Linked DNA regions of Homo sapiens: region 1 is linked to region 2. Evidence: promoter capture Hi-C in 16 types of primary human blood cells and fetal thymus (Javierre and others, 2016). All regions are on one chromosome and are shown on one strand. Each heading gives the region's core, a stretch centred on a gene start or on the middle of the fragment in contact. The rest is flanking DNA. Distances are from core to core; before and after follow the strand shown.

The links. Contacts are between HindIII fragments. The CHiCAGO score rates a contact against its expected background, and 5 or more counts as called.
Region 1: a contact is called between a fragment that was not itself captured here and the fragment with the promoter of FAF1 in region 2, in 1 of 17 cell types (monocytes). The highest score is 6.5, in monocytes.

What each region holds. Positions count from the first base shown.
Region 1 is chr1:51,268,777-51,273,837 of GRCh38, forward strand. It overlaps RNF11 (ring finger protein 11), which reads left to right. Exons shown (of 3, transcript NM_014372.5): 2 at 1,180-1,349; 3 at 2,375-4,671. The coding sequence ends at 2,546. Among named protein-coding and RNA genes, the nearest start is that of RNF11, 35 kb to the left of the region's middle. The HindIII fragment of the contact is 2,254 bases long and covers 773-3,026 here.
Region 2 is chr1:50,958,336-50,964,069 of GRCh38, forward strand. FAF1 (Fas associated factor 1) reads right to left here and starts at 1,932. Exons shown (of 19, transcript NM_007051.3): 1 at 1,432-1,932. The coding sequence starts at 1,476. It also overlaps a transcript of CDKN2C not described here. RefSeq lists an enhancer at 1,219-1,268 and silencers at 1,579-1,628, 1,739-1,898. The HindIII fragment of the contact is 1,270 bases long and covers 821-2,090 here.

The sequences.
Region 1 (5,061 bases), core at 650-3,149, 310 kb after region 2:
AGAACTCAGAGCTGGCAGAGATCACAACAGAGTCCAAGAGTTTGTAGTATTCAAAGAGAAGCCAGAAAGCCAGGACCAAAGCCAAGGACAGTAGCACTTAGCTTAAAGTCTGCAAAGCAGAGAATCATGATGGGGAGAATCATGACGTTGGGGAGATGTTAGAATAATTTACAAATATTGGCATTTACAAAGCTCTTAGTTATCTCATGATTATATCAACTCTTTAAAGTGGGTACTGTTATCTGCTTTATTCAAAGACATTAAGAGACTTGGTCCAAGCAATCACAGTAAGTAGCCGAGCTGAGACTGAAATCTTATAATTTAATTCTTCAGACTGAAAATCTCATCTTCTGAGATAGTAGTGTTTTTCAGACTGCTCTGTTGATTCTGAGGATTCTGCAAAGGTAACCAAGGTGAGGGCTTGGGGATGGGGAGCCTCATCCCTTCTAGGCCACACTCCATCCCAGCTTCATTCCATCAGAGTTGCTCAGTTTTAAATATTATTATAGGCCAGGCACCATGGCTCAACCCTGTGGCCCCACTACTCAGGAGGCTGAGGTTGGAGGATTGCTTGAGCCCAGGGGGTTGAGTTTACAGTAAGTTGTGTTTGTGCCACTGCACTTAAGCCTGGGCAACAGAGGGAGACCCTATCTCAAAAAAAGGTGGGGGTTATACACACGATTCCTTTGAATTGTTTTGTTGTGTAAAAAATCAGTTGGATTAGGAGCAGCAGAATTCTAATTTCAGTATTGTCAATTAGTGACTGTAGGCAAGCTTGGTCCTATGAAATGGGAAAGTTAGTCTTAGATAACTTTTAGATTTATTTTTGCCATAGTCCAGTCCATTTAAAAAGTTTTAAAAATTATTTTTAGAGATGAGGTCTTGCTATGTTGTCCAGGCTGGTCTCTTATCATGTGGAAATAGTTCATTTAACATTCCATGCCAGTTCAGTGAAGTCTGTGTTTATATCCTTTAGGCAGAATGAGAATGTTTTGGTGTGTGTATGTTTTATTCTAGTAGCTGAAGTTAAGGCAGGGTGAAACACAGTCATACAGCCAAACACTAGCCCAGCTTCCTACCCCTCCCAGGGCTCCCTTTCCCTTCTATCTCTGACCAAAAAATAAGCCCTCGAAAGGTTTTTAAAAAATAATCTTTTTCCTCTATATTTTAATATTTTAGGAACAAGTTCCAGTTCCAGTCTACCACCCAACACCTAGCCAGACTCGGCTAGCAACTCAGCTGACTGAAGAGGAACAAATTAGGATAGCTCAAAGAATAGGTCTTATACAACATCTGCCTAAAGGAGTTTATGACCCTGGAAGAGATGGATCAGAAAAAAAGATCCGGGAGTAAGTTTTAATTAATTTGTACATTTCAAAGTTTTATTTTCAGATTGCTTTTGAAAAATTTGCCTTTTCTCCTGCACTTTAGAAAGTCAGACATTTAATATATTGAAACACTTCGCTTAATGCAAGAGAATGTTTAATTTTTTTTCATAGCTCTATTACTGGCTACTAGCAAGAGAATGTTATGTAGTAATTAAGAATTTTCACAGGCCGAGCACAGTGGCTTATGCCTGTAATCCCAGCACTTTGGGAGGCTGAGGTCGGGGGATCACTTGAGGCCAGGAGTTCGAGACCAACCTGGCCAACATGGTGAAACCTCATCTCTACTGAAAATACGAAAATTAGCCAGGCATGGTGGCACGCGCCTGTAATCCCAACCACTTGGGAGGCTGAGGTGGGAGAATCACTTGAAACTCTGTCTCAAAAAGTAAAATAAAGTAAAATAAGAGAAAGTTAGTGTTAATGAAGAGAGCTTTAACTTACAGCAACCCAGTAAGTAGGCTGAAGTTAGTGTTTCTGTTTTTACAGTTATTAAAATGAAAATTATCTTACTCTAGGATTACTCTAAATAGCACAAGGAAACAAAGTTGCCCGAAGTTAGTGTTTCTGTTTTACAGTTACTAAAATGAAAATTGTCTTAGTCCAGGATTACACTAAATAGTGCAAGAAAACAAAGTTGATCTAACTGATGCTTTTCTACCTAAAATAATCCCATTCTCCTTCAGGTATCTGCTATAATATGTAGCTGTTTACAAGCACAGCAGTAGATTTGATGCATATGTAATCCATTTCTCTTTGCTCTGTTGATTGCTCCTAAGTCCTGCAAATTCTCAGGGGATTGAAATAAGAGACTGTGGACAGATCAACATTAGGAAAAAATTCAGTTTGCATGCTTTGGCAATAAGATGACAGGCAAAGCATTCTGATGTGTTACTCAGATTAACACTGTCTTTAATGGGATTTAAAGAGTTTTCTGAATAGGACACTTCTGAAAATGCCTTCTGATTTCTCTCCATTGCTCTCAACAGGTGTGTGATCTGTATGATGGACTTTGTTTATGGGGACCCAATTCGATTTCTGCCGTGCATGCACATCTATCACCTGGACTGTATAGATGACTGGTTGATGAGATCCTTCACGTGCCCCTCCTGCATGGAGCCAGTTGATGCAGCACTGCTTTCATCCTATGAGACTAATTGAGCCAGGGTCTCTTATCTGACTTCAAGTGAACCACCATTTTGGTGGTTTTGATCTTTTGTCACTGAGCCCAAAGAGCCAGGGATTAGGAATTAAGATCGTGCACAAAAGTTTCCTTAAAATTCCTGGATGGCTGCAGATGTTGGGGGAAAAAGTACGTGATATTTTAGAAACTTAGTGGGAAAAGTAGGATGGTATTTTTATGTAAAGCCTTGACCCAATGTTTAAAAATATAATTGTATTTAGATCTTGTTATTGCTCCAGTACATAGGAATTGTGTAAAGTGTTAACAGCAGCTGTATTTGTTTAAATTGTGTGTATTGAAGATTAGGAAAAAGATAGTAGTTATTTTTCCTAAATGAAATAACTTTCTTCTCTTCCCCTTCCCCACCCGAATTCTTTTCTGAAGTTGCTGGCATTTGGGTCAAGGTTTTATTAAAAGCTACATTTTATAACACTGGCACACACAAAAAAGTAGTTTTAAGCTTGTTTGCACAGTTCTTTTTTTCCATTGGAAATGGAATTCATTGCCTTAGGTCTTTTTAAATAGTGTATTATTATCGTTGGGGCTGGCTCTATGCTTGAAAACCAGTTTATTTATAACCTGTTATAAGTGCTATATTCTGTTTGCAGTTAGGAAATGCAGAATTCAAAGTGATCTCCTAGCTTGTAAGCAAACTGAGATGCACTATCCCTTTTCTATAAAAAATAAGTTAATGTGTCAAGAAACCAACTCTATTAAGGTGGGGTTTAATATTACCCTTTCCTATGTGTTTTATCTAATTATTTTGGTTGTTAATATGGTGATAATGGAAAGTCAAGTTAAATTTTAAATATTAAGAATTCTGATTTATTGAGATTGAATTATGCCACCACGTTTATGTAAAAATGAAGGTGGCACCGTGGTGAGACCTAATGAGAAATAGTTACTCAGTTGTAAAAATTTTGATTTATTCTCTTTCTTCTGACCTCCTTGCCTCTTGTCTTGAACCATAGCAAAAGGATACTGCATCTCTCATTACTGTAGTGCTGAGGTTATTGAAGTTATACAAAACACATCTCAGTCTCTGTTTCTTGGAAAGGTATCTATTACATCCTGCTAGCTGACTGACAAAACTAAGCAGGGAGAATAAAGATAATTGTATTTTATGTTTTGCACACAAACGCAGAATTTGTATAACCATATGACTTCATAGTTGTGATCTCAAAAAAGAAGGAATTTCTCCTTTGTTTCTTGCAGTTAATGTAAGAATACTTTAAATCTCTAAGCTTCTGAAGTGTTAGAGGTAGAGATGGTCTAGTAAAGATGTAGTAGTAATGTTTTATCCATTTAGCATGTGTTTATTTTTTCATATGTACTCAAAGGTGACTTATTGGTTCACCTCAGTGATATTACAGCTAAAAAAATCATTCATTAGCAAAAGGAAAAGTGGTCTCAACCTAACATCAGAAGTGTTTCTTATTATTATTTTATATTGAGTTGAATATTGAACTCTAACAGTTTTCTACATACAAAACACAGTGTCATGAAGGTTATTCATAATTGCATTATAGAGGAATGTAGTATGTCATAAGTACTTTGTAAAGATTTGACATTCAACTGTAGTATCCATATGTTGCTTAAATTTCCTTATGAGCCCCATGATGGAAAGACTTAAAGATGAATTTGAGAAAAATTGAAAGAAATTAGATTATCAGGTTCTGTTAAATTGTTACATGTATCTTGCTTAAATTTCTGTTTATTAATTTATATCCACCCAAGTACATAAAGCAAATTTGGAGGAAACAACTGAAGTTGTGCAATATTTTCTGATAATTGCTTTTTTTATTCTTGTGTTTTCTACTTAAACATAATGTCTGTGTCATCAAGTATTATAGTCAGACTTTTCTTTTTTTCTAGATTGTTAAAATTGGCAAATGAACTTTTTTAAAAATCATCTTCCATGTTGCAGTTAGTCTTTCTTTTCATTACAAGTCTTTCACAGAAGTTTGGTGGTAATATTGAAAGAACTAGCATTGGGCAGAATGTGTCTTTTTTAGGCACTTTATATTCTCAACATACAATGTTAAGAACCATCAATTTTGACTTTTACTAAGTTGTTAAATAAAGTTATAATACAGCTGTGAAGGGCTAAAGTTAGAGTTGATTACATAAGTAAGTATTCCCCATATAATCTTTTAAAAAGTTGTGTATGATTATTTTAAAATCTCTCTCTCTATATATACCTGTGGGAAGTATTTTTTATTGTTTGGCATTTAATATCATTTAATCATATACTTAGGCTTGATAGCACCAAAGTTTCTAAAACCAAACAATAGCTATAATCTCTTGATTTAGATATGGGCAAGATATGTCCAAGCTTGGCTGTGGGATTTGAAATTTCTAAAAAGCCTAACCAGGAAGAAACAAAAGAATCTTATCCTTTTGAGTGTAAAACCTAACAAGTTGAAATACTTTCAGATATTTGTAGTTTACCTAACACAAACTTAAAAAATTCTGTGAGTTTCTTGATAGGGA
Region 2 (5,734 bases), core at 682-3,181:
GTAACCAAAACAGCAAACTCTGAAAATGGTTATCTGAACGTTAATTTGTAAAAATAAGGGCCGGGAGCAGTGTGGCTCACGCCTGTAATCCCAGCACTTTGGGAGGCCGAGGAGGGTGGATCACGAGGTCAGGAGATCAAGACCATCCTGACTAACACGGCGAAACCCTGTCTCTACTAAAAATACAAAAATATTAGCCAGGCGTGGTGGCCGGCGCCTGTAGTCCCAGCTACTCGGGAGGCTGAGGCAGGAGAATGGCGTGAACCTGGGAGGCGGAGCTTGCAATGAGCCGAGATCGCGCCACTGCACTCCAGCCTGGGCGACAGAGCGAGACTCCGTCTCAAAAAAAAAAAAAAATTAATTAATTTTAAAAAAAATAAGGAACTTAATAGAACAGAGAGAGAGAAAAGCCCAACAAAATTTCAGCAAGGAAAAATACTGCCTACTAAGCTAGTGTTAGAACCTGTGCAATGTGAGTATTAAAAAAGAGGGAAAAGTCTGCCTATACTTGACAGTAGCTTCTAAGTTGATGCCAAAATGGCCAAAAATATCTCACTAAAATAATTCCTTCACCAAACATCAAAAGGCAAAGGTAGCACTCACAGGATATTAGTTCTAGCTCCAAGTCTTTCACAATGCATACAGTTCTACTTTCAAAGGGCCTTCCTAAGATACTTACATGTCAGTGGCACTACGACTGGGTTTATTAAGAGAACAGCCTTTACTTATCCTTTAAAGTATTCCTGGAGAAAGGACACCAACCAAGCAATTCAAGTCTGTAGGGGAGGGGAATCCGCAAATATGAATAGGTAATTTATTAAGCTTGTGAATTCATTGCAGAGATACTCTGGAATATATAGTCTTATCTGTCTCCTTGTTATCTTCTTACCCTCCAAAGATTCCAATTAGGCAAAGTCTCAAATGTTTACTCCTCTTTGAAAAGGACCTCAGTACCCCATTGTCATTGCCCTCGCCATCTCATCATTCTGCTTTTTTACTCTTCCCTTAATACAATATAAATACACCACGCCCATAACACCACACGCTCCACGCTCACACTCCATACATCTCTCCCCACAGAACCACCCAAAACATCCCATACTTAATGGTCCAACACCAATTAAAACAAAAACTCTACACGTCCCCCCATATAATACAGGAAACACTACACATTCCACACACATTGTAACCCAAGTCATTAATACCTCCAATCCCATTCAACCCGTACTTAACACATTCTACACACTCATGATAGCATATAAATTATACGCTTCTCCATAGCTCGCCACACACACACACACACGCCACGCACCGTATAAAAGCCTAAATGACACACCACTGCAGCGTTCAAACGCTGGGAAGAAGACTCCCTTGTGGCACCGGAAACCCACGAGGTTGGAAGTGGGAGGGGAAGAGGGCCAGATACTTCACCTGAAAATCCGCCAGGATCATCTCCCGGTCCATGTTGGACGCCATGGCGGCCGCCGAGTTCCGCGGCTCCGGGAGCGAAGCGCGCACCTGGGAGGCAGACGGCACCTCCTGCGACCGTCGCCGCCACCGCCGCCGCCGCCGCCGGGCGCCGAGGGGCTGGCGGGCGAGCCGGCGGGCGGGTCGGCGGGCCAGCGGGCGGGGCAGCGCGGGAAGCGCTAGGCGCTCATGCACTCGGTAACCTTCAGGCGCCCCGGCCGCCCGCCTGCAACCTGCGGAGCCCGCGTCGCAGCAGCCCGGACAGGAAGATTGGTCTGGATGTGGGTCCGGTCTTACAGTCGCGGGCCAGGATGAGGGCAGGTTGCGACAGCGCGCACCCGGATACCTTCAGCGGCGTTAAGCCCGGCGGGGGCGGGGAAACCGAGCGAGCGAGCGGGCGGGCGAACGCCGCGGCCGCCTCCGCCTCCTCCGCTTCCTCCCTGGCCGCCGCCTCCGCCCCTGGTTGGCCAGCGCCACGGCTGTCGCACATTTTGCCTGTCATCGAGGTCGCAAAGCGCCGCTTTGCGGCTCCACGTGACCACCCTCCTGTCAAGCGCTGAGCGCGCGACTACCCGGCCAGGATCTCTGCGCTGGCGGCAGAGACTGCAACCTGCAGCTGCGGAAGCTTCAAGTCTCGCAACAGGTTATTCCAGTTTGGATTTAAGCAAAGGCCTCAGGATAGCGCCTCCCCCTAGCTGAGGCGGGGACCAGATTGTGCACCTCACGTGGTTAGTCACACAAATACACACCACCCTCACAAACCAACTAAACACACTGTTACAACTCGTCTAACAAACAGCATTTCAGAAATATATGTTTTTCTCTACAATGTTTCAGCAAAATACAGCTTCATATAGTCTCTCACGCTCAACCTGTCAAAACCGAATCCACACTGTCACACCCAGTCCCAAGCTCCCTGACGTCTGCATCCTCAGACTCCGTAACACAGAAGTAACCAGACTGCCATGGTAGACATGGGAGAGACGAGGAAGCTGAGAAAGGTAAAAATCTCGTTCCAGAGAAGAGGAGGAGCATTTTTTTTAATTGATAAGGTAGTTATGAGAAATAACAACCTCGAGTTAATAGGGTTGCTCCAAAGGGGGAAAAAAGGGAAAACCTTTCTACTGCTGCAGTTATATTTGTTTTTTTAAGCTGAGACATCTTACAAATGGGATAAAACTTGAATCCAGCTTTGAATATAGTCAGTCTATTTTTATTTATTTATTTATTTATTTATTTATTTATTATTTTGAGACGGAGTCTCGCACTGTGGCCCGGGCTGGAGTGCAGTGGCGCGATCTCGGCTCGCTGCGACCTCCGCTTTCTGGGTTCAAGCGATTCTCCTGCCTCAGCCTCCATAGTAGCTGGGATTACAGGCTCCCGCCACCAAGCCCGGCTAAGTTTTTTTTGTATTTTTAGTAGAGACGGGGTTTCACTATGTTGGGCAAGCTGATCTCGAACTCCTGTCCTCGTGATCCGCCCTCCTCGGCCTCCCAAAGTGTTGGGATTACAGGCGTGAGCCACTGCACCCGGCCTATTCATTTTCATAAGAAATTATTTTGGAATATTCACCAAATATTGAAAGTTTCAACCCATGGTCAGAAATTGACAACCTCTGTAACTAAAACAGCCAAAGACTATGTACAATGAAGTGTGACAGTTTGTAATTGTCGTCCAGGTTAGAGAAAGTGTGACAGTGGAAGTTGTTCATCCTTGACTTGGGAAAATATCAGCTTCTGGATTGTCATGGGGCATTTACTTGCTTTGGAAAGTATGTAAAAGCTTGAAAATGTGAAGTAAGATTGCTGATTTTATCCTGTAGAGCTAAAATAACTAGTGAAATCATCATGTAGCATGAAGGCCTAGGCTTCCCTTAAGAACTTTTTAAACTTGTATCATTTATTTACTTTTTTAGAGACAGGGCCTCACTATGTTGCCCAGGCTGGCTTCCAACTCCTGTGCTCAAGCCATCCTCCCACCTCAGCCTCCTGAGAGTGGGGATTACAGGTGTGAGCCATACCACCACACCCAGCAAGGCCTAGGCTCCATAAACTGGGAATATATTCATGAGAAATCAGAAATATGACCTAATTGTTCAGTTTCACTGAATATAAAGAAGTGCACTGTATTATGATCTGAGTTTATTCTGTGTGTTTCCTTAAATGAAAATAGGCTGGCCTACAGTTCTTAAGTACTAATCTGTGTTTAGACCAGAATTAGCTAGATAATAGAACCCTCCACAGTCACATGAATCAAAATGTCTTGCTTAATTTTCAGCCGTAAGAAAATAATTCCATGGCCAGGGCAGTGGCTTATGCCTATAATCCCAACACTTTGGGAGGCCGAGGCAGGCAGATCACTTGAGGTCAGGAGTTCAAGACCAGCCTGGCCAACATAGTGAAATCCCATCTCTGCTAAAAATAATACAAAAATTAGCTGGGCATGGTGGCATATGCCTGTAGTCCCAGCTACTAGGGAGGCTGAGGGAGGAGAATCACCTGAACCTGGGAGGTGGAGGTTGCAGTGTGAACCAAGATCACACTACTGCACCCCAGCCTGGGTGACAGAGTAAAACTGTTTCAAAATAAATAAATAAATATTTTTTTAAAAAGAAAGTAATTCCAAAAGTCAGCACAAATGTGAATCATGAGGCAAAACACAGCACCAATAATATAAATGTGGCAATTCAGTTGCCCCATTCATATAGGCCACCCTCAGTATAAGGCAGGTGAATAATTGTTTCTAGTTATATGGCCAAGGATTAATGCAGTCCTAAAAAGTTGAGAGTTTTTCTCTGTAATGATGCGTGTGTACCTCAGAACCCATTCAAATCCCATGTTGCTCCCTTTTTCTTTCCTTTCTCTCCATCTGGAAATTAAAACAATGTGGTATGTAGAACAATGGGATGAACACACTAGACATTCAGGCATATATTAGTACTGCTTTTCCAAATAATTAGCTGAGGGAACTTGGATGAGTCATTTAATCTCTCTGACTTCAGCTACTCACAGGACTATTTCCTCTGATAAATGAAAAAACAATTATGAAAATGCATGGAAAATATAAAATATTGGTATCACACTAACATAAATTTAATAGTCAATAATTGTGGTTTGAGTTCTAACTCTGCTCTTTAACAAAGGCTCTCTGGTTCTATTTCTTTATCTCTAAAATTGGGCTAAAAAGCTTGTGATTTTGAATGTTGAATGATCAAATGCTTGTGAAAATTCCTCATAAACCTTAAAACTCTCCAAACATATTAGTTATTACTCTGTATACCAATTCCTAAATGCTTTTCTCAGGACCACCCCTTTCATAAAATTTAAGCCAGTAAGGATCTTTCTCCTTTCTAATTACTGCTTTTACTATCTTTACAACACAACTTAGTGCTCCAGTAAATTTTGTAATTTTTTTCTCTAATTGTTTTCATATATGTATGTTTAATCTCCCCCCAAAGGTTGAAAGTTTCTTGAGATTATAAACCGCTTTATGCCATGTGTTTTTATATTCACCATAGTGCAAACATAGCAAAGTCTTGTGAACATAACAGATGGCAAATGCTTTTGAATTTATTAATTTTTATTGGGAGTCTACTATGTACAGATACATTACAAACTTTATCTCATTTAATATTTACAACTACTACTTTACAGAATATAAAGCTGCTCTGGCAAGTTAAGAATTTGCTCAAAGTCATGCTACAGAGTGACAGACCTAGGATTCAAGACTAGGTCAAATTAGTGCTCCTTCCACTTACCATGTTGCCTCTGTACAATTTCCCTTCCATGCTGCTTAGTTTATACCATTCCCAAAGACACTGTTTCTTCCCTATGGCCTAACTCTTCATGGTTGGATACCTAGCATCCAGAGTGGTTATCTACTACAGATAAGAGAAGGGAAGAAAAATAAATACTGAATTAGGAGAAAAAAAATCATTTTTCATTTCTCCAGAATTCCATCCTTAAGAGAAACAATTTCAGTTAAGTGTCATAAACCAAAAGAAGGAAATGTAAAGAAATTTGGTCCATGCACGAGCAAAGAAAAGTAATTTTAATTTATCTATTCTCATAGTTGGCCCACAGTAGTTCATGGAGCTCAGCCTAAGTTAAATACAGATCTTTTTCTAGAATCTCCATGTTCTTTTAAAAGAAACTTTTATATCATCTTTATTTCCAATATAAATAATAAATATTATTTATATTTTACTAAATTTTTATTTGAAATTATTTTAGAATACTTCCAAAGACAGTACAGAATGTTCCTATAT